Regions from separate parts of the Homo sapiens genome. Here all the other regions are linked to region 4. The links are contacts of gene promoters, found by promoter capture Hi-C in human tissues and cell types (Jung and others, 2019). All regions are on one chromosome and are shown on one strand. The core of a region is centred on a gene start or on the middle of the fragment in contact, and the rest is flanking DNA. Distances in the headings are between cores, read along the strand shown. Region 1 overlaps RAB12 (RAB12, member RAS oncogene family). Region 2 overlaps MTCL1 (microtubule crosslinking factor 1). Region 3 has its middle 16 kb from the start of MTCL1. Region 4 holds the start of NDUFV2 (NADH:ubiquinone oxidoreductase core subunit V2). Region 5 overlaps MTCL1 (microtubule crosslinking factor 1).

The links. Contacts are between HindIII fragments. The study calls those that stand out against the background at their distance.
Region 1: a fragment that was not itself captured here is called in contact with the fragment with the promoter of NDUFV2 in region 4 in 1 of the 25 tissues and cell types used here (dorsolateral prefrontal cortex).
Region 2: a fragment that was not itself captured here is called in contact with the fragment with the promoter of NDUFV2 in region 4 in 1 of the 25 tissues and cell types used here (lymphoblastoid cells).
Region 3: a fragment that was not itself captured here is called in contact with the fragment with the promoter of NDUFV2 in region 4 in 1 of the 25 tissues and cell types used here (dorsolateral prefrontal cortex).
Region 5: a fragment that was not itself captured here is called in contact with the fragment with the promoter of NDUFV2 in region 4 in 1 of the 25 tissues and cell types used here (mesenchymal stem cells).

The regions. Positions count from the first base shown.
Region 1 is chr18:8,638,429-8,641,128 of GRCh38, forward strand. It overlaps RAB12 (RAB12, member RAS oncogene family), which reads left to right. Exons shown (of 6, transcript NM_001025300.3): 6 at 1-955. Among named protein-coding and RNA genes, the nearest start is that of RAB12-AS1, 3.4 kb to the left of the region's middle. The HindIII fragment of the contact is 3,546 bases long and covers 1-2,700 here.
Region 2 is chr18:8,730,091-8,732,790 of GRCh38, forward strand. All of the region lies in intron 3 of MTCL1 (microtubule crosslinking factor 1), which reads left to right. Among named protein-coding and RNA genes, the nearest start is that of GACAT2, 24 kb to the left of the region's middle. RefSeq lists an enhancer at 321-615. The HindIII fragment of the contact is 4,723 bases long and covers 1-2,700 here.
Region 3 is chr18:8,688,191-8,690,890 of GRCh38, forward strand. It overlaps the pseudogene TOMM20P3. Among named protein-coding and RNA genes, the nearest start is that of MTCL1, 16 kb to the right of the region's middle. RefSeq lists an enhancer at 1,967-2,700. The HindIII fragment of the contact is 5,020 bases long and covers 1-2,700 here.
Region 4 is chr18:9,101,340-9,104,076 of GRCh38, forward strand. NDUFV2 (NADH:ubiquinone oxidoreductase core subunit V2) reads left to right here and starts at 1,360. Exons shown (of 8, transcript NM_021074.5): 1 at 1,360-1,458. The coding sequence starts at 1,405. RefSeq lists a silencer at 1,088-1,447 and an enhancer at 1,720-2,429. The HindIII fragment of the contact is 4,084 bases long and covers 1-1,711 here.
Region 5 is chr18:8,789,177-8,791,933 of GRCh38, forward strand. The region is part of intron 6 of MTCL1 (microtubule crosslinking factor 1); the gene reads left to right. Among named protein-coding and RNA genes, the nearest start is that of GACAT2, 83 kb to the left of the region's middle. RefSeq lists an enhancer at 1,335-1,858. The HindIII fragment of the contact is 3,706 bases long and covers 1-2,757 here.

The DNA of each region.
Region 1 (2,700 bases), core at 134-2,633, 460 kb before region 4:
TATAAGTTACCTATTTCCCTCCAAATTATTATATTTCATTCATTACCCCAGTGTCTAGTGTACATACACTGGGAAACCTAGTACTTCTAATATGAAGAATGGGAGAAATGAAAGGTATAATGTTTCTTGAAATAAATAATATAATTGTCCTTATTAATTATATTATGAGGACAGAAGATATTCTGATAAGAGAGAACGTGGTGCTTTGCTTACCGTTTTAAAGAAAATTTGTAAAACTAAAGACTTTTTGAAAAAAAGCTATCTTAAGTGCTTTTTCTTTATTTACAAGACATTTCCCCCAGTGGTAGCATCTGAAGTATTGGAGTGTTTCTGCCACGAAGCAAAGCTCCATTCATGGCCGTCATGGAAGGTTATTTATTAATGTTACATAATGGTAGAATATTACTAGTTAGAGGGTTGGATTTGACTTGGTCCTAAGGCCACAGAATCTCTCTCATGGCTTCCTAAGGGATGTACCTTTATGCTTTTAAGAACTACAAAGATTCAATAAAGAAAGAAATGTTTTTGAAACTATAGAAAAAGATTTTAAAACACGCTGCTGTCCTAAACAAATCCTGTTTAAAGGAATTTTAAAGAGATGCATTTTACTATATCAAAGAACATACGTGTATTTGCCTAAACACTCTGTACCTTTGTAATGATAAAACTTCCCCCTTCTTTACGGTGAAGCTTATTCTGATTAAGCCTAGACTGTGTTCTTTTTTTTTTTTTTTTTTTTTTTTTTTTTTTTTTTTTTTTTTTTTGGTCTGATGATGAATTTGTGAACTCTATCTTTGGTATATCTTTTATTAAACTGCACTGTTTTGTTTAGTCAAGGTAATTAAGTAATTATGTATTTGAATAACTTGGTGTGTCTTGAGTGTTGTGGTATGAAAAGCATTGTGGTCTTTCTACACTAATGAAGTGCAAATAAAATTTTGTATTTATGAATGAAGTTGAGTTGCCATATTTATTTATCCAATTATAAATTGTATATATGACAGTATTCTCCATGAGCTCCACAGCTTAATCCTTTTGAGTGTTTAGACAGGAAAAGCATAGTCCTCCACTGGGGAAAAGAGTTTGATGTTTTCTCAAAGGGCTGAACATAGAGCTACCATATGATCCAGCAATTTGACTTCTAGGTTTATATCTAAAAGATCGAAAGCAGAGACTCAAACAGGTACTTGTACACCAGTGCCCACGGCAGCATTGTTCACGAGAGCCGAAAGGTGGAAACCGCCCCAATGTCCATCAGCAAAATAATGGATAAACAAAATGTGTGTTCTACAAACAATGGGATATTCATCCTTAAAAAGAAAGGAAATGCTGTCACATGTGCAGCGCGGATGAATCTTGAAGACATTACGCTGAGTGAAATAAGCAGGCCCAGAAGGACTGATACTGCCTGATTCCACTTACATGAGGTATATGGAGCACCCAGATTCATAGAGATGACGTAGAATGGTGGTTCCCAGGAGGGCGGGAGAGGGGATGAAGCATTGTTTCTGGGTGCAGAGTTTCAGCTGGGGAAGATGGACGGTGGCGATGGCAGCACAGCAGTGTGCAGGGACTTCTTTAGTGCCACTGAGCTGTAGCAAACTGGATTGTCGTGTCCTCCAGAAAAGATTTTTAGTTCGTGTATATGCCTTTATCAGCCACAGTCGATTACGACTGCTGGTGATTTACCTACCCTCACCTCCCACCCTGCCCTTCTGTGTTCTGCTCTGTGATGCTGGGGTTGGGACTCCCAACTATATTTGCCAAACCCTCTTGCTCTTCCTGTTAAAATCTGCTGATGGAGAGCTAGAAGTTGGCAGGAGGGAAGAAGGGGCTTGCTTGCCATTTTTCCGTTCCCATCAGCCTCCCTGGAGCAACAACAGACCACCAGCTCTAGCCTCCAGCTTCCTGCGGGACCCCTGGCTCCAACCTCACTGTGCCCTGTCAGAGGTACCAGTGGCATCTGGGCTTCTCAGTGTCCTGCCAGCTGGGTCATTCCAGCCCCTGCTGGACTGTACCCTCAGCAGTCCCTCTGCCCCCCAGGGTCCTGCTCCTCCGAGTCTGCACTCCCCTCCTCAGAAGCTTGGACCCAGTCTTGCAGGGGTCCTTCCTCTGAGCTCCTGAGTTGTGGCAGTGCCCTCCCCTTTTTGCCCCCAGGGCCCTAGGGTTGGTAGCTGCTTCCTTCACTTCATTGGTTTAGCATTTGAACAACCATGTAGTCCCCTGTATTAAATCCTTCTGTTTAGATATCCCGCATTGGTGTCTGTCTTCCTGACTGATAGAGGACCTGGAACCAGGAGTGATCTCAAGAAACAGATCCTCAAAGATGAGTTCAACAAAAAAAACGGTGGTGTTTGGCATGGGCATTTGTAGCTCATTCAGCAATCTGTGGTCTATTTTATGTTTACAACTCAATCTTAGTTTCTGCATTTTCAGTCTGTCAACTGTAGTATTAACAAAAGTGCTATCCTTGTTTAGTAGGATAGTTTGGGGGTTACAGTTGGACTTTGCAAGAAGGCAGTGTGGTTTATAGCTCTTGAGTTTAATTTTTGTTGTCGTTGTTGAGTTTTGCTCTTGTTGCCCAGACTGGAGTGCAATGGCGTGATCTCAGCTCAGTGCAACCTCCACCTCCCAGGTTCAAGCAATTCTCCTGCCTCAGCCTCCCGAGTAGCTGGGATTACAGGTGCACGCCACCACACC
Region 2 (2,700 bases), core at 62-2,561, 370 kb before region 4:
GTCAAAAATCAGTTGGGCACATGTGTTTGGGTCTGTTTCTGGGTTCTCTGCTCTGTTCCATTGATCTCTGCCAGAGCCACCCAGCCTTGATCACTTAGCTATATATGTCCTGAAAGTGCTTTCTTGGTGCGGAGTCCGTGCCAGCCAGCAGATCCGAATCCCATTTGATCCCTCAATGGCATTTTGGCCCACTCACCTCTTTGCCTTTTGGTATGTCTGTGTCTCTCTACACAGCCCCGTCCTTATGAAACGCTGGATAAATATTTGTTCCATGGGTGAAGGTTTTATCATCTTTATTTTTCCCTTGAGAAAGAGCCAAAACATTATTTAAAAATCTCTTGCTGAGGAATTTCTGATTCTTTATATCATTACCTAAGGATAGTTAATAAAGGCCAGTAATTCCACTGTAGGTCAAGTTTTTTGACAATGACTGTGAGTCATGAAATTGGCCTGTTTGGTTAGTGATAAGCGAAGCCGCTTCTGTTCATCAACTTCCTGAACGTCAGCCAGGCTCCTCGCTGGGCTTGGACAACGCCGGCTTGTCCCCTGTGCGCTGTACAGCTGCCTTCTTTTTATTTCCTGTGCAGTCTCGCCCACAGCACTGCAGGCTCCGGGGGACCTTTTAGGGCAGATTATGGCACCCTTGGGATGGCTACCTTGGACGCAGCGATGCTGTGTGAACATTACTTTGCAGACTTCCTGAGAGATTGAAGATCCATCTATTTCTCTCCTTCTCTAAGACAGCCTTTCTTGGAAGATGGGAATCTCTGATAATGTGCAGGGCGTTTCAGCATTTTACCTACACGTTAGAATGGAACCTCTGACTTGTAGTGAAACAGACACTGTGCTTGCTGCTTTTCTTAAAAATAATTGGCTGGGTGCGGTGGCTCACGTCTGTTTTCCCAGCACTTTGGGGAGGCCGAGGTGGGCGGATCACGAGGTCAGGAGATCAAGACCATCCTGGCTAACACGGTGAAACCCCATCTCTACTAAAAATACAAAAAATTAGCCGGCCGTGGTGGCGGGCGCCTGTAGTCATAGCTACTCGGGAGGCTGAGGCAGGAGAATGGCGTGAACCCGGGAGTCAGAGCTTGCAGTGAGCCAAGATTGTGCCACTGCACTCCAGCCTGGGCGACAGAGCAAGACTCCATCTCAAAAAAAGATAAAAAAGTAAAAAATAATAATAATGATAATTAAAATAGGCTGGGCACGATGGTTCATGCCTCTAATCCCAGTACTTTAGGAGGCCGAGGCGGGCAGATCACCTGAGGTCAGGAGTTCAAGACCAGCCTAGCCAACATGGTGAAACCCCGTCTGTACTAAAAATACAAAAATTAGCCAGGCATGGTGGCAGGCGTCTGTAATCCCAGCTACTCAGGAGGCCGAGGCAAGAGAATCGCTTGAACCTGGGAGGCAGAGGTTGCAGTGAGCCAAGATCGCGTCATCGCACTCCAGCCTGGGGGGCAAGAGCGAGACTTCGTCTCAAGAAAAAAAATAATAATTAAAATATAGACAGCACATATTTCTGAATAATTTAGACTTTCACTAGGCAGTAAACTGCATCAAATTTGTAGCATTGTCTGTGCTATGGGAAAAATAGAAACTACTGCTCTTCTCAAAAAAAAAATTTTTTTTTGAGACAGAGTCCCACCCTGTCACCCAGGCTGGAGTGCAGTGGTGTGATCTCAGCTCACTGCAACCTCTGCCTCCCAGGTTCAAGTGATTCTCCTGCCTCAGTCTCCTGAGTAGCTGGGATTACAGGTGTGCACCACCACACCTGGCTAATTTTTGTATTTTCAGTAGAGACGGGGTTTCATTATGTTGTCCAGGCTGGTCTTGAACTCCTAACCTCAAGTGATCCACCTGTCTCAGCCTCCCAAAGTGCTGGGATTACAGGCGTGAGCCACTGTGTCCCGCCTCAAAATTTGTATTTGATTCTCTTGGGGTCTGTTGAATTTATATGCTACAAGTCATGTTATTGATGTAATATAATTTAGGTAACTTTATTCTTTTAATCTTCATTTTTTTTGAGACAGGGTCTCGCTCTGTTGCCCAGGGATCATGGCTCACTGCAGCCTTGACCTCTTGGGCTCAAGGGATCTTCCTGCCTCACCCTCCCGAGTAGCTGAGACTACAGGCGTGTGCCACCACACCCGGCTAATTTTTTTGATTTTTTAAATTTATTTATTTATTTATTTTTTAGTAGAGACTGGGTCTCATCATGTTGCCCAGGCTAGTCTCAAACTCCTGAGCTCAAACAATCCTCCCACCTCAGTTTCCCAAAGTTTTGGGATTACAGGGGTGAGCTGCCGTGTTTGGCTAATTTAGGTAACTTTTATCTTCAAGTGCAGAATCAAGAGTCAGAGAAATAGAAATGCTTAGAAAATACTCCATAGGATTCTCTACGGCCTGAGTGCTGTTTCTTGGTGTTGCTCAGACTCAAGTGAGCCATCGTACGTTGAAATGGTATGATTATGAGCCAAATAAGCAAGTTGTGTTGTTTTTTTCTCCCTGGTAATAAAAAATCATTCGCATTGAAAAGACGCCGAGTCACCCATACATAGTTACACAGCCCAACTGAATGTCTCCCTGTTGGGCAGGTAATCAGGCAGCACTTGAATTCTGACCTGAGAATAAGCCCCAGAGAGAGGATGGACCCCAGGTGCTGGCAGGGTGCCGCTCCCCATGGCTGTTTGTACA
Region 3 (2,700 bases), core at 31-2,530, 410 kb before region 4:
TGTATTTCTTCAAAGAAGATTTCTGAACAGCTTCAGCAACTTTAAGGTCAGGTCACTTGCAAAGCTCAGCTCTCTCCTTGGCAAGCTTCTGTGTCTTTCTTTGTTCTCACAGCCTGTTCTTGAAGGTAGGGTCACTCCGTCTCTTGTGGCCTAAGTAAATGCAGTACCCAATGAAAAGGGCCCTGCGTACCCTGGCTATGACGGCACTGTTCTGGCCCAGCGTCTTTTGTAGACTGTGGCGTCAGGGTCTCAATTCCTAAATCAGCAATGAACATCTGCTGCTTAGTTCCTATTATTACTGTACATAAAAGGCTGCATTTCTTAAATTGGAAAAAAAAAATGGGCATTTTGTACATTCAAGTTGGCCTTCTAGTTAGTTCCCGACCAAATTAACCATTATCAAGATGTTTATATTTCACTGAATTCACGAGCTGTCTGACAGCAACAAAGGTCATATGAACATTGTGAAATCAGGAGTGAAAACATGGATGTGTCTTTTTTCTATTTCCCCCCTCATTTGAGATTTGCAGCGTACTTAACAGCAACTGATGTGGTATATTCTGTCCTTAAATTTAAAAATTATAAAAGTAAACACTCAGGTTGAATATTTGGAGGGAAACATTGATACTTTTGCACAGCAAAAATAAATACATATATTTCTCCTTTATTCAAGAAATTTCTCAGCAACTGGAAGTGCTGCTGTGAGACTTATCCTGAAATCTGCACACGCTGTGGTTATTCGTGCAGGAGAAACGTGGGAATGTGCTGGTTCCTACGGCAAAGGCCCCGGTTGGGGCTTCTCCCTCCCAAGCTGTGCGGTGACGCCAGCCACACATGCAAGGACAGCAAATTGGAAGTTGGTCATCACTGAGGACTTAGGAGAGCTTGGGTGGGTGTGTGGGGTAGATCTGAGGGGCTAAGGAAGGGGCACAATGACAGGGATGGGTGCTGGCTGTACCCGGCATGCAGTAGATGCTCAACAAAGGTGGAGTCTCAAGACAGATGGCTCAGAAGTCTTTGGGGAAGGGGAAGGAGAGGGAGTTCAAAGATGAACCTTTGGAGCCCAATATCAATTTAAAGGAGCAGAAAAGCAGTGCAGACAAGGAGGCTTCTCATCTCTAAGCATCTGCCTGTTCCTCTGCCTTCTAGAAGACACTTCCTGTTAGAATTTCAGGCTCATGCTCCTGGCCTTCCCTCTTCTCCCTGCTTGGATCAGAGTCTCGATCAGAACATAGCTCCTGGGAGACCCCACTGGCCTTCAAGACAGACAAACAGGAATAGGGGGATTGTGGCAAGTCTTTCCCCACTCAGTAATGTGGAGAAACTGCCACGGGAGATAAGCAGCTGAAAATGTTTCCATCTATGACCTAATAAGCCAAGTCAATTTCACACACACACACACACACACACACCATCAAAAACATCATGAATCCCGATGACATCACTTTTGCATCTGCAATGCTATTACTATTGTTAAGGGCCTTCTAAAGCACCTTGTTAAATCAGCATTTGATCCAATCACACTGCCTGCACTCAAATCAGCGTCTGAGACAGCCACAGGCCGTGCTTCTTCTTCACCGCACCGCACATAAGCACAACCCAAGCACGTACTTGGGCTGCTGACGCTTGGCCACTGCGTGTTTCCTCACGTAGCACAAAGGGACGCTGGGCCACGCAAGGTCGTGTTGTTCAATGGCAGCTGAAATGTCACAAGCAGGTTTCCTTGAGCCTTAATGGGTTTTGTTTTCCCAAAGTCTCAAAGAATCGAACCGCTTGCCCCCTTTCATCAGTCTTCTCAGAACACTCCCCCAGGACCGAATTTAAACTTCTGGAGGGATCAAAAATCAGCTAATTAATCAGGAGCTCAAAGCCAGCCTCTTCCTGGATCAGCGCATGGGGGTTGTGCTCCTCCACACTCACCGCCCTATTTAATGTTTTAATTAAAAAATTTCTTCCTCATCTTTTCCATTTTTAACTTGTATAGAACTCGTTTGAGTGGAACTCTTTCGTCCTATGGGCTCCATGCACTCCCAAAGGCCTCCGATTCTTGATGAGCATAAAACCTTCTCTCCACCATCATCTCACTTGCAAATGGAAATTCCAGAGCTGCTCCTGGCTCTGAGAACCCCAGGGCAGACATCTAGTGGGAACTTTCCATGAGGAAGCAAGACATCTCAGCATGTCTGACTGTTGTCTGAGGACCCTTAGCTCTTTCCTTCCAGCCACTTCTCTGGCATCTCTTTCCTCTGTGCATCCTGCAAAGTCGGCCCGTCTCACTCTTCGGAAAGACCCCAGCTCTGATGGTGGCCTGGTGCCCGCAGGGAGTAGAGAGTGTATGAGAGGAGGCAGCACCCAGTGGGGCAGGAGTGTGTGCACCGCCAGGCACTTCGGAGTTCAAAGCCCGGCCCTGCCACTTAACAGTGTTATGGTGTGGGGTGAGTGGCTTATTTGCCTTGTGTCTTGGTTTCTTCATCCGCAGCACTGAGAGAAAAATAATATCTGCCTTCCCCACCTTAGGACCCATTACCGCATTGACAAGGCTCATTTGCTACCTTCACCATAAAGCCTTGCCAAACCTAATTACTTCCCTTGTAGGTTTTTGTTCTTGTCTTCGAAATTTGCAAAACAGAAAACCTATTTATTTTCCGATGAGAAATGGAACTATCAAGCACATTGTTTGCCTGTAAGCAGATTTATACG
Region 4 (2,737 bases), core at 110-2,609:
GGCGCCTGCCACCATGCCCGGCTAATGTCTTGTATTTTCAGTAGAGACGGGGTTTCACCGTATTAGCCAGGATGGTCTCGATCTCCTGACCTCGTGATCTGCCCACCTCAGCCTCCCAAAGTGCTGGGATTACAGGCGTGAGCCACGCGCCCGGCCAGGTGTATAAGTATTTAGGTAACTTTATAACAAAATACATTTACATTAAGGGCCAGACTGTCTTTTCCTTTTAAAGGGAAATACTGAAGCTAATTTAGGAGAGGCAAACTAACATAAAATATAAGGCAAAGGAGTGGGAACCAAGGCATTTGGTATCTATTTCTAGCTCACTGGGCAGCAGTCCTCTGTGTCTTGAATTCTGTGATTTGCGAAATATGATTCATAGGGGTTGCAATGGAATATTTCTGAGTTTTTAAACTAATGAGGGATAAATTTTTAAAATCCCTGTGCTGCTGTGAATGTTCTAGAAATTATTCACAAGTTTATTATAGCAAAGAAAATGGGCAAAAGGAAGGGGGTGGGTACAGGACGTGACACTCCAGAAAAGAAGGCAGTGACGTAAAAAATCAAGAGGAAGTCCACACCAGGAAATAGTGCTGTGCACATTAGAGCTGTTACTGAATAAATACTTGTTGGAATTTCCAGAGATAACCAAACAAACATGAAGAAGGAAGTGGGTTTTTTTTTCAGCTTTATTATGGAAAATATCTAATATGTACAAAAGTACCGAGAATAGTAAATAAGAACGACCATGCAGCTTCTATGGCCTTACTTAACGGCCAACTTGCTTTATTTTTCACCTCCCGCTCCCCACTATTCTCAAGCAAATTCCAGACATCATACCATTTAACCCCTAAATATGTCGCACATATCTCTAATGCAAAAGATTGGGAACCAAGACATTTGGTGTCTATGGCTAGCACACTGGATAGCAGCCCTCTGTGTCTTGAATTCGTAACATGTAGAATAAGATTTATAGTGGGTTGCAACCCGACTTTATTTTTAACTAACAGCAATATAAGAGGAGGTGGCTAATCCTCACAAGGCTCTCCATGAGGGAAGCTCACCCCTATAAATCCAGGCGGGCGCTTCGTTACCCAGGAGCCCAAGGTGCAGCTCCGGGACGCTTCTTTTCAAGGCCGGGACCCCTGCAGCGGCCCGTAGGACACCTCCCTTTCCGAGCACGGACTGGTCCCCGCCCCTCCCCCGGGAAGTCTCCGCCCACAGGGCCCCAGCAGCCCCCGCGCGCCCTCGCTCCCTCCCGTCAGCCCCCGCCCCTCGGCGAAGGGAGCGGCGTGCCGTCCGGGTCGCCTAGGCCTGGGGTCGGGAGCGCGCACGCTGTGCGCCCTGGGCGCGCTCGGGATTCTCGCCTGGCGCGGCTGGGGAAGGTGAACAGTGTGGCCCGCCATGTTCTTCTCCGCGGCGCTCCGGGCCCGGGCGGCTGGCCTCACCGCCCACTGGGTAAGGAGGCTCAAGCTGAGCCCGGCGCTGCCGCCGCCCTTCTCTTGCTCTCCGTGTCTCCCTTAGTTTTGGGCGCAGGAGAGCCCTGGGCTCTGCACGGGCCTGCAGGCGGCGGCAAGGACACTGCGGCCTTAGCCCTCTTAGGGAGGCCGCTGCAGCCCCACCGTGAGAAGCCCCGAGGGAGGGTTGCCATACTGGGAAGTGTACTCCTAGTTTGGTCGAGGAGGACAGAAAAGAGGGGCTGCTTGGTGATATATATATATATGTTTGTTTGTTTTTGCTGTTTTGCTGTAGCGCAGAATCTAGGCCTGCTCTGGCCAGATCAGTTTCGAAGACCGTCGCTCCGAAGGAGGCACCTCTCGTTTCAAGCCTAGTGACCTCGATGCTTTTAGGTTGCAGCATACTGGAGAGCTCTGGCTTGCTTCGTGAAGGCTTAGGGAGAACTTCATTAGGGCTGGAAAAGGGTGGCCAATGTTTGATTTACTGCAGTTGTGCTTTGCATATCGGAAATGCTGGCTAAATAAACGGTATCAAACTAACTCTGAAAGAACGGCGCCGCAAATAACAGCACCCAATTAAAGAACCACAGGATTTTAGAGATTAAATGATCTTTTTGAGATCCAAGTACATCTCATGGTAGGCAAGGAAATTGAATTGCAGAGAAGTTGAAACACTCCTTCACGTTAATCTAAAAATGCAGATTTCCAGAAATGTCGATTATAACAACAGGGCCTGTTACACAAGTAATACTGGAAAGAAGCCTTAGTTTTGTTTGTTTTCTAAGAGTGAAATAGGTTAAGTCAGTTCTCAGCAAGAGGGAGCTAGTGTATATTCATTGAGAATGAATTCAGGGCTTTAGAGTTAGACTCGAGTTTGGATGTTAGCTTAACTGCCTTTTGTGGCTCTATGACTTTGTGCTGTTAATCTTCCTCAGTTTCTTCAGTTGTAAAATGGGAATATTCCTTTTTGCAGAGTTCAGTCTTTCAATAAACATTTGAAGTCTTACTGTACGTCATGCACTGCTGAGCTCTAGTTAACAGTGTGGATAATAATGATAGTCATTTGATAACTGTTTTCTGTATGCCAAGCACCGAGTTAAATATCTACATTCCACATCTCATTTTTGAGGCTGGTATTACTTTTTCCTCATATTACAGATAAGGAAAAGATTTAGACAGTTCCCGTTCTTTTGGAATTGATAGTCTCATGTAAGAGGAACTTTAAGGTTGAGACAATGTAAAAGTACAGTGTTAGAGAGATGAATAGGGTCATCCAATGT
Region 5 (2,757 bases), core at 215-2,714, 310 kb before region 4:
GAAGCACACAAAGCACTCACAATCCCACGTGCCTCAGCTGTGAAATGCCAGCCACAAGGAAGTTACGTGGGGTTTTATGCCAAGTATTTGCACTCATGTGTTGGCCTCATGTACTGCTTTTGAAATAAGTGGTTGCAAAACTGGCCAGGACAAAATGGAACCCTCCAGAAAATGAAGCCATGGTCATGGTGATGGAATTGTCCTAATAGAGGAGTAGCATTGCTAGGCACTCTAGTGATGGCCATGAAAAGCCTTCCTTTTCTGTTTGTGTTTGAGATTGTGAAGTTATCTTCTTAAGTGTGGGAAGTAATTTGTAAGCCACTTTCTCTGGAGGTAGGGAAGTTAGCCTTTGTCAATCAGTGTGGGATGCAGCTCTATTGGGGAAGACATGGACGGGAGTTCCGGAACACTGACGTGGGGAGAATGGTTACAATTGTCAAGACTAGTGTCTCAGCAGCCTCGGAAACAAGTGAGGGTGGTGGTGGTTTAGATAAGCTGCTTTAATAGGGAGATCAAGATGAATTTGATGTATAATCAGAATCCTAGGTAAGTGAACAAAAAAAGGGTTTTTTTTAGAATCAAACCTTTGGGGATTGGGTGGTAAAGGGAAATATTTATTTTTTTAGAAGACATTTATGTGTCATGTGAAACTTTTCTCCAAATGTATGTGGTTGTATGCAGTTGTGTGGCAGTAGAGTAATTCTAGGCTGAACCTTTTGCCATAGCACGTTTTGTATGTTGTTTTTTGTAACATTGGAGTGACGTTGGCATCCCAGCTAGGGGCAGTTGTCCGTGGGAGTTTTAATATTGCATTAGCAAAAATGGACAATAAAGGAAAATGAAACTTCTGATAATCAGGAGGATCTAAACCTGTCTGCTGTTGGGCAGGCAGCAGTCTCCAGAGACAACACTGGAGCCATCGTAGGTGAGTCCGACTTCCCCAGTGAACTGGCTCAAGGACCTCCCTTTCTGTGACTCTTCAAAGGTGTGGTTCAAACAGAAGAGCACGTTTTAAATCCAATGACACTGAAGTATGAGCTTCATATATTGTTTCAGATAAAAATGGCTTCTTAACATATATATTATTTATTAAAATTAAAACCAAACTAAATAGTTCATGCAATGTATAGAAACTAAACTAATAGATCTTTGCTTTTCTTAAACAATAAGCTTGATTAGGATGTCTGTTTTTACACCTAATAAAGCTTTTGGCTAGCACCTAATGCATTAAATAAGAAGGATTTTTACATTTTGAGTTTATAGAGTAATGTGTAGCTGGAAAGTAAAGCTGGCAGGAGAGCAGCCTAGGTGACCTGGAAACAGTCCTGCACGGAACACCTGAGAGAGGAGGGAAGCCCCAAGGGCAGATGTGGCCGCTGTGTTTACTGCTGTATCCCCCACGCTTTAGATGATGCCTAGCACTGGAGGTGCTCAATAAATATTGAATAAAACACTGCATAAAATAGAAAGTATCCTCTTAAATACATCGCTGAATTCCCAGGAAATTTAGGGGAATCTTCAAGAGTTGGAATTGATTTTAGATTTGAGACCCAGAAGGCCAGGCACGGTGGCTCACGCCTGTAATCTCAGCACTTTGGGAGGCTGAGGCAGGCAGATCACTTGAGGTCAGGAGTTCGAGACCAGCCTGACCAACATGGTGAAACCCTATCTCTACTAAAAATACAAAAATTAGCTGGGTGTCATGGTGGGTACCTATAATCCCAGCTGCTCGGGAGGCTGAGGCAGGAGAATCGCTTGAACCTGGGAGGTGGAGGTTGCAGTGAGCCGACGTCACGCCACTGCACTCCAGCCTGGGCGACAGAGCGAGACCCTGTCTCAAAAAACAAGCAAACAAAGAACTGAGAACCAGAGTGGTCTCTGTGGCCCTTGGGTGGGTGGATTAGGGAGATTGTTGCCAGAACTGGTAACTGGGAGCCTTGGGTTTCAGCAGCTCCAAGGGAACAGGAGATGGGGCCTGGGCCCAACATTGCAGGGAAAGAAAGGAAATGAATGAACAAGAGAAGCATCTGCCTGCTGGCCCCAGGGCAGGGAGCAGGGAGGCAGCACTGATACTTGTTTCCCCAGCATGAGCCTCTGGATCAGGAGTGGGAGGACTGAAGCTGGCCTCACCCAAGGTCAGGCTTTGAATTGATGTTACCAGTTTGGTCCGGGAATCCCCAAAGAAAGGGATTTATGTTATGTTGCTAGCTCCACCAAACAGGAAACCAATCTGGAGGCACATCCTCCACCCAAATCCATACTAGATCCATAGATAAGTGCCCCTGGGAGATGAAGTCACACAAGCCAGTAACGTCCAACAGGGACACAAGTTGGCAGACACGGCAAATAGCAGGATTCAACCCTAAGACTGCAGGTAATAGAATTATCAGATGGACGCTATCAGATAAGTGCCTACACAGCTATTAAAGGCAAGCAAACAGGAGAAGAGTATGTCACCATCATAAAAGACCACACATTTTCTAAATAATAGACCTTTTGGAAATGCAAAATTAGTCATTGAGGTCAATTCAACATGTAGGGAAATGCATCTTTTCAGAGAACCCCAAACAATGCTGAATATGTATAAGAGACTATAGTAGTCTCAAACAACTAGCAAATCAAAGAAGCATTTAATGCTGTCAGAAATTACTGAGTTTTTTGAAAATAAGATGTTTAAATCTCTAGCTTTCAAAGTTTTATGCTGAACTTGGTGAATCCCCAGTGTCTGATTTTCTGTCTCCGTTCTTCTTTCCTTAA